Linked DNA regions of Homo sapiens: region 2 is linked to region 1. The links are contacts of gene promoters, found by promoter capture Hi-C in blood cells and fetal thymus (Javierre and others, 2016). All regions are on one chromosome and are shown on one strand. Each heading gives the region's core, a stretch centred on a gene start or on the middle of the fragment in contact. The rest is flanking DNA. Distances are from core to core; before and after follow the strand shown.

Region 1 (4,683 bases), core at 1-2,500:
CCAATAATAGGCTTGAATAGTTTCTGAAATATTGCAGGCCAGTAGAAGAACATCCTTTCCCTCTGCAGCACTGGACGGCAGGGCTTCAATAGTGAACTGGACAGTGGTGGGCGGGTGCCAGAAGGTTAAAAGTGAGGCTAGGAGGTGAAGACAGCATCAGTCAATACTGGGACCTATGGAGTGGGATGGAAAGATAAGGCCCTGGGTCCTCAGCAGGTCTCCTCATCCCTCAGCCTTGGAGTGTGTGTGTGTGTGTGTGTGTGTGTGTGTGTGTGTGTGTGTGTGTGTGTGTGTGTGTGTGTCCCTGGGTCAGCAGCATGACCCCCATTCCTTCAACAGCTTGGACCTTGGCATTTCCCTGGTGGAATCTTCTTCCCCAGGGGTCTGCACGGCTCCCTCCCCACTGCCCTCAGATCCTGCTCACATCAGGGTGTTTTTGGGAGACCCCTCCCCTGACACCTCCTCTAGAGACCCTGGGTCTTCCCTTTCTGACCTTTCCCAGCTCTGTTCCCTCCAGGGCTCTTGTCAGCACCTGACCTCACATTCTAGATCTCTTTAGGTGTTTGTCTTCCTCCCCATGAGAGCGTGAGCTCTGTGAGGGCGGGGACTTGTGTGATCTTGGTTGCACCCCAGTGCCTGGCACAGGCTGCAGACTCCTGTAGATGAGTTCATGAGCATTCTCAGGGCCTCCAAGTCCTGAGGTTTATTTCCCAGTGTCTGAGGTTGTTGGCTAAGAGCAGTGTTTTATGCCCTGGTTATGTTTTTATTTGAAGTGTCATCTGGTATAGTTATTATCATTTTTCAAAATGTAGTGGCCAGTGATGATTAACCAGGACGAGAGAACACTTGAGATTTTCCTGCCTTTTACCAATTCCAGTTCACTGAGATTTTCCTGTTGTGACCCCTGCCCCTCTCTGATGTTCTCTCCCTTATCCAGCCTCCAACAGAGGCCCTCAGTCCCCTCTCAGAGCCCCAGGAGACCCCAGCCAGAAGCCCTCTATCCCCTCCTACCCAAGAGACCCCAGTCAGTCTCTGTGCTCCCTCTTCCCACCACTCCCAGAGAGTCCTCCCCTCACCTGTGATCAGGAGCCCCTGCCAGGGCCTGTGCCCTCCACGGGGAGCGGCTGAGGGGGGGCCCATGGTCTCTGCTGCCTGCTTGTCCTCTGTGGAGAGGAGCTGGGCTCCAGGAACGCTCTTGTCAGAGCTGCTGTGACTGTCGGCTGTCGGGGCTGCTGACCTTCCTCCTTCTGTGCTGAGCCTCCTCCCGGGCAGAAGCACTTCCCAGGGCCAGGGGCAGAGGCGGGGCTCTTCCCAGGTCACCCCTCTGCCCCTCCCCTCTCATTTCTGCCTTTTTTGTCCCTCCTTCCCCTTTCTCTTCTGTGTACATTACAGTTTCCTAACCACACTTTGAGAAGCAGGGTTGGTGGAGTCCCCTGTCCCCAGAGAGGGTGACTTGTCACCCCTGCACTGACCCTTTGGGAATGTCACCACAAACAGAGGTACTCTGGGGTCTCCCAAACTTGGGGAACTGTTTCCTTTTGTGACACAGAGACCCAGCTGGGCCCCCAGGTCTCCTCATGCTCCCCAATACTCAGGGAGTGTGAGATGATACCCAGCAGGAAGGTGACAGAGGTGGCTCTGTGGGATAGAAAATGGGGGGCGACTACGGGGGGGACCAGTCCTCTCTCTCCAGTGTCACCAGCCTTGCCTCTGACCCAGGGACAGAGATCCAGGCCTGGGGGTCTCAGGAGGATCCCCAGCTCCTGGATGTGGAGGGAGGTGTCCTGCATGTCCTGGGAAGAGAGGACTGTGGTGGAGGGAGGTGGGTGGCTCTGGGTTCTGCTGTCCTTGAGGAGGGATTCAGGGAGATCCTCCCTCTCCGTTTCTGTTGGCTGAGCTGTGGCTTAGGGCCTGTGCATGTTCTCCCTTACCATCCCGGGTGGCCTCTGTCCTCTGTGAAGGTGATTGTCCTGTTGTCACTGTACCTTCCCCATGCATGATACCAGGAGAAAGTGGAGAACTGAGCAGAGAATCCTGGCAGAGCAGGATCCTCAGAGGCTCCAGGAAGGATCAGGAGAGACAGAGCAGGCACATGGGAGGGACTGGAAGGGCCTGCTGGAGCAAAGTATGGAAACCAGGCTTCACCTCCACCTCCTTAGCAAAGCCAGATTCCTGTCCAGGGGAATCCATTTCCTGTGTTGTCTGCGTGCAATGTTGCCCCTGGAGAGCAAGAGGAACCCTGTGGTAAAAGTCAGGGGCTTCCCCAGGGATGCTGACCAGGGTCCACGTGGTATGAGTTGGCCCTGGCCCCTGGGCAGAGGTGGGCTCTGACCTCCAGACTGCAGGGTCAGGTCATCCTTGGTCCTGTTCACTGTGGGTCCCCAGGATGTCCAACTCCATGCAGTGCAGGATGAGCTCAGGGAGAGGACGAGAGTTGTCCAGAGCACTCCTGGTCCTGATTTGGGAGAACTGTCCTGCAGGCGGATGGGCTGCCTCAGAAAGAGCCATCCGTCCCCAAGGTTTCAAAAGAAGGGCCCAGGGAGGTGTCTCTGGGGGTTTAGAGAGAGGGCACTGGCCTGGGAGGTGGTCCTCGGTGTGTTCTGTGTTCCTCCATCACAACACTGGGAGTTCCGCCTCCAGGTCATCTGTGTCCCTGTCTGTCACCTGCCCCAGGCCTCTCCACAGGGCCCAGGAGCTGGGGCAGCTCCTACCTGCAGGCTGCAAGGGATACCTGGTTCCTGTATTAGAGCAGGGGAGGCCCCGTGACCCTCAGTCCCTCTGAGATGGAAACAAAGGCAGATCCTGGGTTATCCTGTCCCCTCCTGCAGGAGAAGTTCCCCTGGATCCCCTGGTGAAATGTCTGCAGGGACCATAGGCAGATGTCCCAAATACTGGGGATCTCGAGGCTGGGGAATCACTCCCTGACTTTCTTGTGGTCATTCTGCCCTGGTGGAAGATCCACCTGGGATCGAATATCCGGAGTTTGTGTCAGTTTTGGTGTGTTTGTGAGAAAGACATATGTTAGAGCCTGGAGGGAATGTCAGTGAATGATGTCAGGGAATGAATTGGGTTTGCCCCTCACTGTTAGAAAGACCCTGAATTCCCTCCCGATGCTACTAGGGTAAAAGCCATGTTCTTATGCTCATTTCTCTAAGGAAATGCAAATAGAGTTTATTAAGGCGTTTCTGGCCAACTAAGGTGGATTTTGTCATGTAGACACAATATAGACCATAATACATGTACATATGCAAAAACACACCTAAACACATATCCACAAACAAATAAAAATCTTACAGCTTTCATTTTAGAATTTTAGTGATGAGATAGTAATACAAACTCACTAGTTGATTAAAGTCAACTGGATCCAATTGTATTTCTGACAAATTGGAATCGTTAACATGGATAAACTTTATTTGCCCCTATAGGTAATATAATGAAGGCTGGGGGAAATATTTTGGGTAAAGCAGTTTCTAATGGCAGTGTAACTTATAAACAAATAAACAAATGAAACCTCTACAGTTTCAGCATCTTTTTTTTTTCTGTTTCACATGAGTTTAGGATTAAATTTTCAATTGCTTACACTTTAGCTAGAACTGGCTGAATTGTATAAGAAAAAAAAATCTCCAACTAGCCTTAAACTAGATTTTTTGTGTGGGTTGGAGGGGGGCGGGTGGTGGTGATGTGGTTTGCTTGATTAACAAATGTGGATGAGGAAGGATTTTAGCTTTTTTTCCTGGCTTTTTCTTTTTTGCCTCTGCATGGCAAAAGAAGAAAAAAGTTTATGTCGGACAGAGACACCTTAAATTATTGCTCTGAGTTCAAGATTTTGACCTGTATGATCTGAGAGCCTAACTTTTATAACCATGTATTTTTTTAATTATTGATTTTTAATTGTGCTCCATTATAAGCAATTATTAGTTAGACAAACTTAAATTTACATTTCCTAAAGGTGTCTAAGTTGTTTCTTATCATGGAGTTGTTTAATTTGTAAAGCCATTAATTTTAAAGCCCTTCAAGATTTCTTTTTTAAAACTCTGGGCTAGAATGCCATAAGCAGTGAGTTTTATCTCAACACCAGTAGAAAAGTCAGCAGATTCAAAGTAGGTAGAGAAAAAAAAATAGAGAATTTAGAAGACTCTACATTTCCACCCTATAGATGCAGGGCTTTTTAAAACAGGTTGAATGATGATCATTGAGTACTGAATTTTCCTTGATGTAATTTTGCTCATAAACTTTAAAATGTGCACAAGAAAGAACCATAAAATGTAGCCAGCTGGAGCCCCAGAAAACCTGGCATGCCTTAATGCTTGAGAGCCCCATTCCATTTCTTATTAATCTCTTGAAAGTGAAGAAAATTTTACAAATCCTGCCAGAGAATGTCAGGCATTTGTACCAGTGTTTTAGATGGTGGCAACCACGCTAGTGGCTGTTAATTAGCCATTTTGTGCCCGTCATTTAGAATGTCTATTTTTTTGTGTTCTGGGATGATTTTCAGAAGCAAGCAAGGGGAAAAGAGTCAAACCAAATAAAAAGAAATCCAGATAAGAGCATTCACAAGAATTTTAACCCAGGCATGCAGATTTTTAAAGTATTTAAATTAGGCACACAGGCCAAAATGGAAGTAAATTCACCAGAATAGACTTGCCTCACAGGCAGAATGTAAATTTTGTAGAATCCAGAGTA
Region 2 (4,683 bases), core at 2,184-4,683, 450 kb before region 1:
ACTCCAATTCAAAAAAAAAAAAAAAGGCACCAGGAAAAGAGTAAAACAGGGCCGGGCACGGAGGCCCACGCCTTTAATCCCAGCACTTTGGGAGGCCAAGGCGGGCGGATCACTTGTGTCCAGGAGTTCCAGACCAGCCTGGTCAACATGGTGAAACCCCGTCTCTACAAAAAATACAAAAATTAGCCCAGTCTGGTGGCATGCGCCTGTAGTCCCAGCTACTTGGGAGGCTAAAGTGAGAGGATCACTGGAGCTTGGGAGGTTGAGGTTGCAGGGAGCTGAGATCGTGCCACTGCACTCCAGCCTGGGCAAGAGAGTGAGACCTTGTCTCAAAAAAAAAAAAAAAGAAAGAAAGAAAATTGTAGGTGAAGGTAGAAGTATCTCCAGTGATCTTCAAGACTGGCACAATATTCTAAAAAGATACATTTGAACATAAAAATAAATGTTAACCAGACATCGTTTTTAGAATTATACAATACAAATTCTGGTGGGGAGTTGGCTGAGAGCCCCTCCTCCAGCTTCCTGGTGGTGGCGGTGTTCCACCTCCTGGGTCCCCACCCTCAGTCTCCCTTGCTCTGCCTTCTCCCCCACCCCACCTCCACATGCTAGAAACCAGGTCCTCTTCTCACCCTCTCTCCCAGGTGAGCCTGGTCACTCACAGAGCTGCAGAATCTGCTGTCTGTCTGCCAAGGACTCCCAACTCTGTGTCCACAGCAAGGATCTGTGCTAAACCACACTGGCCTTGCTGGGCCTCCAGCGCCATACACTCCCTCTTATGGCTTGTAACAGGTGTTTCCCCACCTGGAATGTTTGCTCTCCTCTCTCCTCCAAAGTCCTGCCCCTCCCTGAGGTGAGAAATCAGTTCCCCCACCTCCCCCACAGCCCCAGCACTCTGTGCTGAAATCATCATCAAAAACCCTGGTCTCCTCCAATCCCTCCTGCTACCCTCTCAGCCACCCAACATGCTATTCCCCCTGCAGGAACACTCTTCCCCATGATCTTTCTCGAGTCATTCTTCAGATCCATGTATCCCCTCCTCCAGGAAGCCCTCCCTGATACTCACCACTCTCCGGCCAGGGCAGGCACTTACTCTGGGCTCCCACAGGCCCCCTGGCCTCCCCCATCCCAGCCCCGACCACTCTGGGCAGTCAAGGTCTGGTGACTAACCTGCCTCCTCAACTGGACTGTGGGCCCCATGGGGGTAGGGCTGTCTCTGTCTCTACTGCCTCCCCAGCATCACCCAGTCAGGCCTGGATGCAGGCCTGGCATCAACTCTGCATAAAGGAGCGGAGGTCAGGAGTTCCCTGGGGCCTCAGTGCCTGGCACTGGTGGAGGGGCTTTCTGCATGCCACACTCTGGATCTTCTCCAGCTACTCCTTATTCTGGAAGCTGCAGCATGTTGAAATAAAAACTGGAACTAAATGGAGATGGAATGGACTTCACATTTGGACACATGGGTGTGTAAAGAGGAACGTGACTTCTCCAAAGTAACGCATAGAGGCCGGGCGCAGTGGCTCACGCATGTAATCCCAGCACTTTGGGAGGCCGAGGCAGGCAGATCATTTGAGGTCAGGAGTTCGAGACCAGCCTGGCCAACATGGTGAAACGCCATCTCCACTATAAATACACAAATTAGCTGGGCATAGTGGCACATGCCTGTAATCCCAGCTACTCCGGAGGCTGAGGCTGAAGAATCACTTGAACCCAGGAAGCAGAGGTTGCATTGAACCAAAATCGCACCACTGCACTCCAACCTGGGTGACAGAGCGAGACTCCGTCTCAAAAAAAAAAAAAAAAAAAAGTAACACACTAACCTCCTGACCCACCCAGAGTGGGTCTTACCTTCTAGAAAGATAGAAAAGAATAGAACCAGGCCAGGCTGACTCTGGCAGCTTTAGAACAATAGTAATGGCAGGAGTGGCCGGCGATGGACAGCTGGGGGTGGGACTGAAATAGACAGCAGCCAGGGAATAGTGGGTTGAAGGGAGAAAGGGAGTTATTTTTCTGTAGTCTTTGAAATTTTATTTTTCTCTTTCCTTTTTTGGAGACAAGGTCCTGCTCTTTTGCCCAGGCTGGAGGGCCATGGCGCGATCATGGCTCACTGCAGCCTCGAACTTGAGCGATCCTCCCTCCTCAGCCTCCCAAGTAGGTGGAACTTCAGGCGTCTGCCACCACACCCAGCTAATTTTTAAATTTTTTAAATTTTTTCTAGAGATGGGGGCCTTGCTATGTTGCCCAGGCTGGTCTCGAACTCCTGAGCTCCAGCGATCCTCCCACCTTGGCCTCCGAAAGGCCTGAGCCACCGTACCCGGCTGAAATTTGTAATCAACCCATAATCATCTATTACTTATGTAACTGAATTCCTATGAAAAGCATAATAAAGTGGAGATCATAAAGGTGCCGACTTCGGGCTGTTGTAAGATTTCGGTGCCACACCTAGCACAGAAAAAGCATGGAGAGCAGAAGGGCAGTGAACGCCAGCTGGCACACGTTGGCTACGTGCAAGTATTCGCCTAAACGCTGCGCAGGTATTCATCATATGATCCCCATAAACCTCTGAGGGCTGCACTCACATGTCATCCCCGATCTGCTGATGAGAAGTTCAGTTATAGGCCCAAGGTCACATATCCCGAGCCAGCGTAAAAGTGGAATCCAGGGAGGAGGAGGAGGAGGAGGAGCAGGAGGAGGAGGAGGAGGAGGAGGAGGAGGAGGAGAAGAAGAAGAAGAAGAAGAAGAAGAAGAAGAAGAAGAAGAAGAGAAAGGATTACTGTCCGTCTCTCTCTGGTTCTCTGCACACCCCTCACCTCCAGGGTTTTCAGTCTGTCTCTGGACCATTCTCCTTCTCTCCCCCTGCCCCATTCTCCAAAAGCCCAATGGGGTGACTTGCAGGCTGGGGGCACCCCCTGGTGCCTGTGTGCCGAGTGCAGAAAGTCAGGGCGGTACAGGGTGGAGGCAGGTGAGAGTGTGGGGGTGGTTTGGGTCCCACCGAGATATGGAAAGGTGGGTATCAGAGTAGAGTGCACTCATTCATTTCTTCATCATCACAGCCCAGAGGGTCCACTCTGTTCTGGGAGTGTTGGGGGGTAGGAGTGGAGCAAAACAATGCCCCCAGACGAAGAGAGCAGTGGGAGAAGGAGAGAAGGAGCATCCCAGAGCCATAGACACTTAGGGGCTGTGTGACTCTGGGCAGGTGACCTAGGGTCCTTGAACCTCAGTTTCCTCATCTGAAGATGGAGATGATATGTTAGTATCTCCCTCAGAGTATTAATGGATGCTAGGTACAGTTATAAGCTTCATTTACAGATGAGGAAAACTGAGGTTGGACAACTTGGCCAGTCACATAAAAGACGCAGTGGGGTGCTCCCTCAGCACCACTCTCCGGCTAAGAATTCTGGCTGCAGAGGAGGATGGACTCCAGGAGAAAGAACAGGCCGCCATTCCCATGGTTCAGCATGGACATCGGTGGAATGCTGTTAAATTGGTCTGTTTTGAGGCCGGGAGCGGCGGCTCACGCCTGTAATCCCAGCACTTTGGGAGGCCGAGGCAAATGGATCACCTGAGGTCAGGAGTTCGAGACAAGCTTGACCAACATGACGAAACCCCGTCTCTACTAAAAATACAAAAGTTAGCTGGGTGTGGTGGTGCGCACCTGTAATCCTAGCTACTCAGGAGGCTGAAGCAGGAGAATCACTTGAACCCAGGAGGCGGAGGTTGCAGTGAGCCAAGATCGCACCATTGCACTCCAGCCTGGGCGACAGAGCAAGACTCTGTCTCAAAAAACAAAAAAGGAAGGAAAAGAAAGAGGCAGTGGTGTTAGCAGGGCAATGAGTTGAATTCCAGTAACTCCGGTTCCCCTGGGTTTCCAACCCCCAGACCTCAAGCTTGGGCCTCCACACTCCTCTCCATCCCATCCCCCAAACATGTTCCTGCTAAACTGTTAAGCTCCAGTTCCTGCCTATCCCACCACTTACCCACCACCCCTCTTCTACTCCCCCTGTCTCCACTAACCTGCCGATCCACATATTTTCAACAGCCAAGATCGCTCTCGACCTGTGAGCAGGAAGCCAGTTGTTGAGACAGGTACACTTTCATCCCGTTTAATGACTGTGTCTTCCTCATCTCATGGCAGTGTGAGGCACGGGCACACAGGCCTAGGGAAGGCAGACAAGCCCTGTCCCTGCACTCGCCCCACTTTGGGCTAGGAGAGGAAACCAGCTCAGACAAATAATCTCAGATGCCCGCTGTTTCAAGATCCTCTGGCTGCAGAGGGGAGGGTGGAGGGGAGCGGAACCTGGAGGCCTGGGGCTCTGAGAGGAGAATGGGTGGGGCCTAGATGGGAGGGGAAAGAGCCAGAATAGAATGTGTGGAGGGCAGAAGCGGGCAGATCAAAGCCAAATGCTAGAGGCAGAAGAAAACAGAACCCCATGACTCAGGCGTTTGAAATGAGGAAATTCTCAACCCAGATAGATGCAGAACTGATTCTAAGAGGAAAAGATTAGAAACAACCTAGAGATCTGATCAGATGGGAAATTAAATGGATGGAGAGGTGTGCCAAAGCCTTCTCTGAAACACCTCCCAGGCATTAAAATTAGTGATCCAGAGCCAGCTGTATGGATATGAATGAATCTTAAAAGCTGAAGGACAAAAGCCAGTTGCAGAAGAAGGGATGTGGACTGTGTGCTG

What was found. Contacts are between HindIII fragments. The CHiCAGO score rates a contact against its expected background, and 5 or more counts as called.
Region 2: a fragment that was not itself captured here is called in contact with the fragment with the promoter of CEACAM4 in region 1 in 1 of 17 cell types (total B cells); the score reaches 5.5 in total B cells.

The regions. Positions count from the first base shown.
Region 1 is chr19:41,625,824-41,630,506 of GRCh38, forward strand. It overlaps CEACAM4 (CEA cell adhesion molecule 4), which reads right to left and starts at 1,251. Exons shown (of 7, transcript NM_001817.4): 1 at 1,077-1,251; 2 at 1-137. The coding sequence starts at 1,140. The HindIII fragment of the contact is 7,709 bases long and covers 1-4,683 here.
Region 2 is chr19:41,171,951-41,176,633 of GRCh38, forward strand. It overlaps LOC124904790, which reads right to left. Exons shown (of 3, transcript XM_047439802.1): 2 at 4,009-4,119. Among named protein-coding and RNA genes, the nearest start is that of CYP2S1, 19 kb to the right of the region's middle. RefSeq lists an enhancer at 3,632-4,309. The HindIII fragment of the contact is 289 bases long and covers 3,290-3,578 here.